Linked DNA regions of Homo sapiens: region 2 is linked to region 1. Evidence: promoter capture Hi-C in human tissues and cell types (Jung and others, 2019). All regions are on one chromosome and are shown on one strand. The core of a region is centred on a gene start or on the middle of the fragment in contact, and the rest is flanking DNA. Distances in the headings are between cores, read along the strand shown.

Evidence for each region. The method cuts DNA at HindIII sites, captures the fragments that hold promoters and counts their contacts. A contact is called where the count stands out against the background at its distance.
Region 2: a fragment that was not itself captured here is called in contact with the fragment with the promoter of FSD1L in region 1 in 1 of the 25 tissues and cell types used here (spleen).

Annotation. Positions count from the first base shown.
Region 1 is chr9:105,446,727-105,449,505 of GRCh38, reverse strand. It overlaps FSD1L (fibronectin type III and SPRY domain containing 1 like), which reads right to left and starts at 1,472. Exons shown (of 14, transcript NM_001145313.3): 1 at 1,271-1,472. The coding sequence starts at 1,285. RefSeq lists a silencer at 982-1,591. The HindIII fragment of the contact is 8,259 bases long and covers 1-2,779 here.
Region 2 is chr9:104,957,582-104,960,281 of GRCh38, reverse strand. No RefSeq gene overlaps it. Among named protein-coding and RNA genes, the nearest start is that of ABCA1, 31 kb to the right of the region's middle. The HindIII fragment of the contact is 8,350 bases long and covers 1-2,700 here.

The DNA of each region.
Region 1 (2,779 bases), core at 223-2,722:
CGGACTTTGCTCCTTCACTTGACCTCTGCTAATGTCCATTCAAATATCATTTCTTTTATCTAATAAGCTGAGAGATGTTTTACAAATTTAGGCAGAGACAATATTTTAAACCTATACATACTCAAAATACACAAAATCTAATTTTTAAAAAATGCCTTAAGAATAGTCATGCATTCCAAGGTGAGTTTCAAGACCAACACATACAATGAAATCATATGCATATTTGTTAAATACTGTAATAGTCAATGCTCAACACATCATTATTCTCTCATGCCCTCAGTGAAGTGATCCTCAAGAAGGTGAATGTAGACAAAATTGTAGAAAACGTTGTTCTAAGTCTTTCCCGTGCTTTCTAATAATAGAAAAGAATAGTCTCTTAGATATGTCTTTGTTTTCCCTGCTACATTATTAATACTCCTTGTTTTTTCTTTCCTACCCTGTACTATATTTCAATTACGTTATAGTCTAACAAAGAGAACAGGGTGGTTATTTTCATATGGAGATTATGACTGAATAATTCACTTCTAACTGTATTCAAGACATTGGCTTTGTTCTCCAAATACTTCTGAATTGAACCTTTACGATTATATAACCTTTCCTCAACTGTTCGGAAAGTATAAAACATTCCACAACGACCCCTAAGTAACTGTGCCCAGCAACACCAACTGGTCAGAGAGTGGGAAGGCTGCCCTAACAATTGAAGTCTTTTCCCTCCATTCAACGAACACTAAACACTAAGATCTACTTAGGAAAAGTCATGGGAAGGGGAGCGGTGGGCGGTACAAAGGAGATTCGGTCCCTGACCTAAAGAGCGTGGTGCTGAGACGAGACTTGGTCGAGGAGAAAGCCCCAGCTTTCGGCGTCAGCAGGGAGACACCAAAAAGGCTGTGCCTCGGTTTCCTCACCTGCTGAGGAGGGATACACCCCCACCAGCACGCTCGCAGTCTGCAGGCATGAAAACCGGCCTAAAGCGCTGCAGAGTGGCTGATTTTAAAAGGGGGATGGCTCCGTTTCTCCTCCAGAGTCAGGGCCCCGGACAGCGCGCAGAGCAGAGGCCAGCCCGAGTCACCGGGCGCGGTCCCCGCATCCGTGTGGGCGCCTCTTAGCTCCCGCCCAGAGAGCGGCCGGGCGGCCTTGCCCTCCGCAGCAGCAGCCCGGACGCCCGGCCAGGCCCACCCCGCGCACCCACAGCCCACGGGCCCAGGCGCCCCGCCCACCCTGTGCCGGCCCGGCTTGTCTCGGTAGCCCCGGGCTCCCCTCCCCCGCTTACTTTCTGGGAGTCCATGGCGAGTGGCTAAGCCCACTGGGCTCGAACCCGAGACGACGAACCGTGTGAGGAGGCTCAGCGAGATCGCACACCCCAAGACCGCTACTCACTGCACTGCCCCAGCCCGCACCGGCACCGCCCGGCCCCACCCGTCCGCGCCCAGACCGCGCGCGCCGTAGTCACGCCGCGGTTGCCAGGGTGAAAGGGCGGCCCGCAGAAGGGAGGGGCTGAGGAGCGCACCGCGCCTGCGCGCAGCGGCTGACTGCTCCCGGGAAGTAGCCGTGGAGGGTGGGGAGCGCCGCCCGTCTGTCTACCGCTAGTGCCTCTGCAGGCTGCACTCCCTTCCCCCATCCTTTTTCCTCCAGCGATAGCGGTCTCTCCGGCCCTGAAATAGGCCACTGGGCATCCAGCAGCCGGCCGGTGCGGAGGGCCCGGGAAGGAAAGAGTATCTGGTGCTGGAGACGGATTAGCCCACCCTCCACCCAGCACGCATCTGAAGCCCCTCCCCACACTATCCTTCGAGGGGCAGCCAGGCTTGAGCGGACCCAGCGGTCCAAAGGGAGGAAAAGGGCTGGGGTGGGGATGTAGCGAAAACGTGGGAAAAGACCTTTAGGGGATGTGGTGGAAACGTGGGAGGAGGGATATAGGGATGAGAGTGGCGGAAACGTGGGTGTGGGATTAATATGAGCTTTGGGGCCTGGCACAGTTTTTCCCGGGGACCCACCCATCCTCCCCGGCACCTCGCTACCTGTATGATTTTGAGCAAGTCAGTCTGCCTGAGCTTGTTTCATCTGTAAAATGAGAGAAATAATGCGGACTTTGCAGAGGATTGTGAGGATTAAATAACGTATGGTACATAATTAGTAGTGAATAAATTATAGTCATTCTCTTTTTTTTTTTTTTTTTTTTTTTTTGGAGATGGAGTCTCGGTCTGTCACCGAGGCTGGAGTGCAGTGGTGCCATCTTGGCTCACTGCAACCTCTGCCTCCCGGGTTCCAGGAATTCTCGTGCCTCAGCCTCATGAGTAGCTGGGATTACAGGCGCCCCCACCACACCTGGCTAATTTTTTGTACTTTTAGCGGAGACTGGTTCTAGCCATGTTGCTTAGGATGGTCTCGAACTCCTAAGCTCAGGCAGTCCGCCCACCTCAGCCTCCCAAATTGCTAGGATTACAGGTGTGGGTTACAGGGCATGTGCCAGGCCCATTATAGTCATTCTTAGTGGGGAGTTAGAACCTGCTCGGTGTGGCCTGAGGCATCAATGAAGATTTTAGAAAGCTTGGAATTTAGTAGGCTTGAGAAAGTTCTTCCTCAAGCAGACAGGCCTCATCTTCCATTTGGATGACTCTGGAGAGGCTCACAAAAGTTCAATTAGACAGTCATTTATGATGAATGAATAAAAGGGAAATACATATTGAGTACCTATTCTGTACCAGTTCTACAAACAAAATTCAGTAGTGGGCAAGGCCCTGTTTCTCTCACAGAGCTTACAATCTAGTATAGAAGACCAACC
Region 2 (2,700 bases), core at 137-2,636, 490 kb after region 1:
AAAGACAGAGAACACTGATGAAATGGAAGACGAATTGGGAATGAGATATGTAAAAATACCCTGGGACTAATTATATAGAAATGCTGAGGATATATCATTCATGAACCTGTAAAAGCATACAAGAAATATTTTTCTAACAAAGAACACCTCAGTGCATGATAGTTAACAATGCATGACTGTCTGATAGAAGGATTTCTCTTGATTCACTGTTGGAGATGCCTGCTCTAGCATAAAAGCTGTTTACAGGAAACAGGCAGAGCTGAGAGTTGCAGAGAATATGGGCAGGAGGACAATTCAGTATAAATGTCTCTGTGTTGCTAAATCCAATCACAGAACCGTATGTTGCTCTCTCAAGTGCTTGATTGTTGAACTCATTCAGTGCATCTAAGAATGTAATTGTTAATTTTGCGTACAATAAAATGTGTAAATAATTAAATGCATTAAGACTTTGGTAAATCTATAAAATATGATAGCTTGTGGAGGTGGAAAGCACCAGGGAAGGACAGGGAAGGGTGAGCATTCAGATGGGGAGGTCCCATGCTGGTAGTTACCTTCTGTATCCCAGAATGTGACAAAGAGGTCCCGAAGACTGAAACACCAAGGACAGTTGATGTTTTCGTCTTGAATGTTCTACTTCCTATGGTAGGCGCATATCCTAAAGTAAAATTAGAAAGATTTCTAGTAATAAGAATAAAAGCAAAAGTACGTTTGTCTTTAGTGCTAGAAAGGGGGATGTAGCTAGCAGGAGTCACCTTAGGTCACTTAAATCGCGATTCAGTAGTCTTCCTTCTTCATCACACAACTTAATATTTTACTGCAGTTGTTTATTTTTAATTTTATTACAGAAAAATTCACTCTTTTTACTGTGTATTTCCACGTGCTTTGAAACATACATACACTCATGGAATCACCACCAAAATTAAAATGCGGAATTGCTCCACACCCGAAAAAGCACCCTTGTGCTGTCTCTTTGTAGTCAACGCTTCCTCTCACCTTTAAACCCTGGAAACCACTGATCTATCCTCTGACTCTTTAGCTTTGCCTTTTCCAGAATAACATGAAAATGGAATCATGTAGTAACACAGCATCTTTTACATTAGGGAATTTAAAACAAAAGCAAGTAAACAAGCAAAAACAAATACTAGAGCCCCATTCCCTGAATATTCTGGTTAAGTAAAATTTACTATGTCAGACACCTCACATCGTAATACTTCTCAAAATATTTTTCCCAATCAAAGCAACTTTTGTTTTTCTTTCTCTTGGTCCTTGCCCTCAATTGCTTAAGAATTTGAGAAGAAGAGAGGGTAACTTTGCATTTGTTTCCTGTGTGATCATGACAGTAATTTGGCTGTACAGAGGAGATTGCTTTGTAATATTTTGTCTGGGGGTGAGGCAATGTTGGTGTTTTTCTAGCAATTTTGTAAATATAATCTGAACTAGAGAGGAAAACTCACTCCATGGTGTCCAATTAGAATTTTTCTGAAAGAGAGAAGATAAAAAGGGAGTGGGATGAAGCATAGTTAGGCACATAAAAATTAGAAAAAACTCTAAGGACACTCCTTTGTGATTGTCAGCTTCCTACATAAAGGAATATAAAATTCTTGAAACATGAAATTGCAAGGCATGCAAGGGAAAACCAATGCATGTGGGTTTGTTTGGATGCACACACAAATTCAACTGCCTGCTTCATTGAGGCAGGCAGACCAGCTCAAGGTGCAGCAGGAGTTAGTTGTTTTAATTTCCAACACTCTTTCTGCTCTTATCTTCATGATCTAGAGCACATTAAATAAAAATATGAAGGCCAGGTGTGGTGGCTCACGCCTGTAATCCTAGCACTTTGGGAAGCCAAGGCGGGCGGATCACCTGAAGTCAGGAGTTTGAGACCAGCCTGGTCAACATGGTGAAACCCCATCTCTACTAAAAATACAAAAATTGGCCAGCCATGGTGGTACGTACATGCCTGTAGTCCCAGCTACTCAGGAAGCTGAGGCAGGAGAATTGCTTGAACCCAGGAGGCAGAGGTTACAGTAAGCTGAGGTTGCGCCACTATGCTCCAGCCCACGCAACAAGAGCAAAACTCCATCTCAAAAAAGAAACAAAATGAACGTTACAAGAGCAAAATTTTACCTTCACTTTCCCTTCACAATTATTGCTTTTAATTAAAAAAAAAGGGGGGTGGTGGTGGTTGGGAATGTGGGCTTATTTGGTTTCATTCCATAAACTATGGAACTGACATTACATATTGGGGGTCAGGGTGGGGTATAATAATATAATATAGGCTGCTGCTGGCCTTTCTCATCTTACTAGGTCGTATTTATTGTGCATCCACACTGGAATAGGACAGCTGCTGTTTGGCTGCTGCTATCTTGGTGTAATTTCTTTCTAGTATGTCACCTTGCTTTTCCTACCAATTATTAAATCATTTGCATCAACCTCTTGTATATGTCTGAGGTTTGGGCTCTGCCTTTGTGCTTATCACCAGTATTAAACACGGGAGCACCAAAGGACACCGAGGGAAACACCACATAAACACAGTGATGGATATAGTGGCATAGCAACCCAGGGGGTGCAACATATGGGTTAGAGCCTCATGTTTTCTCAACTTTCAAGTTGTGATAGAATCAGGGCCCTCACAAGCTATAAACATAGATTTTTATCTGCAAATGCATTATATTCGAAGTCTTGCCCAAATCTGTTATG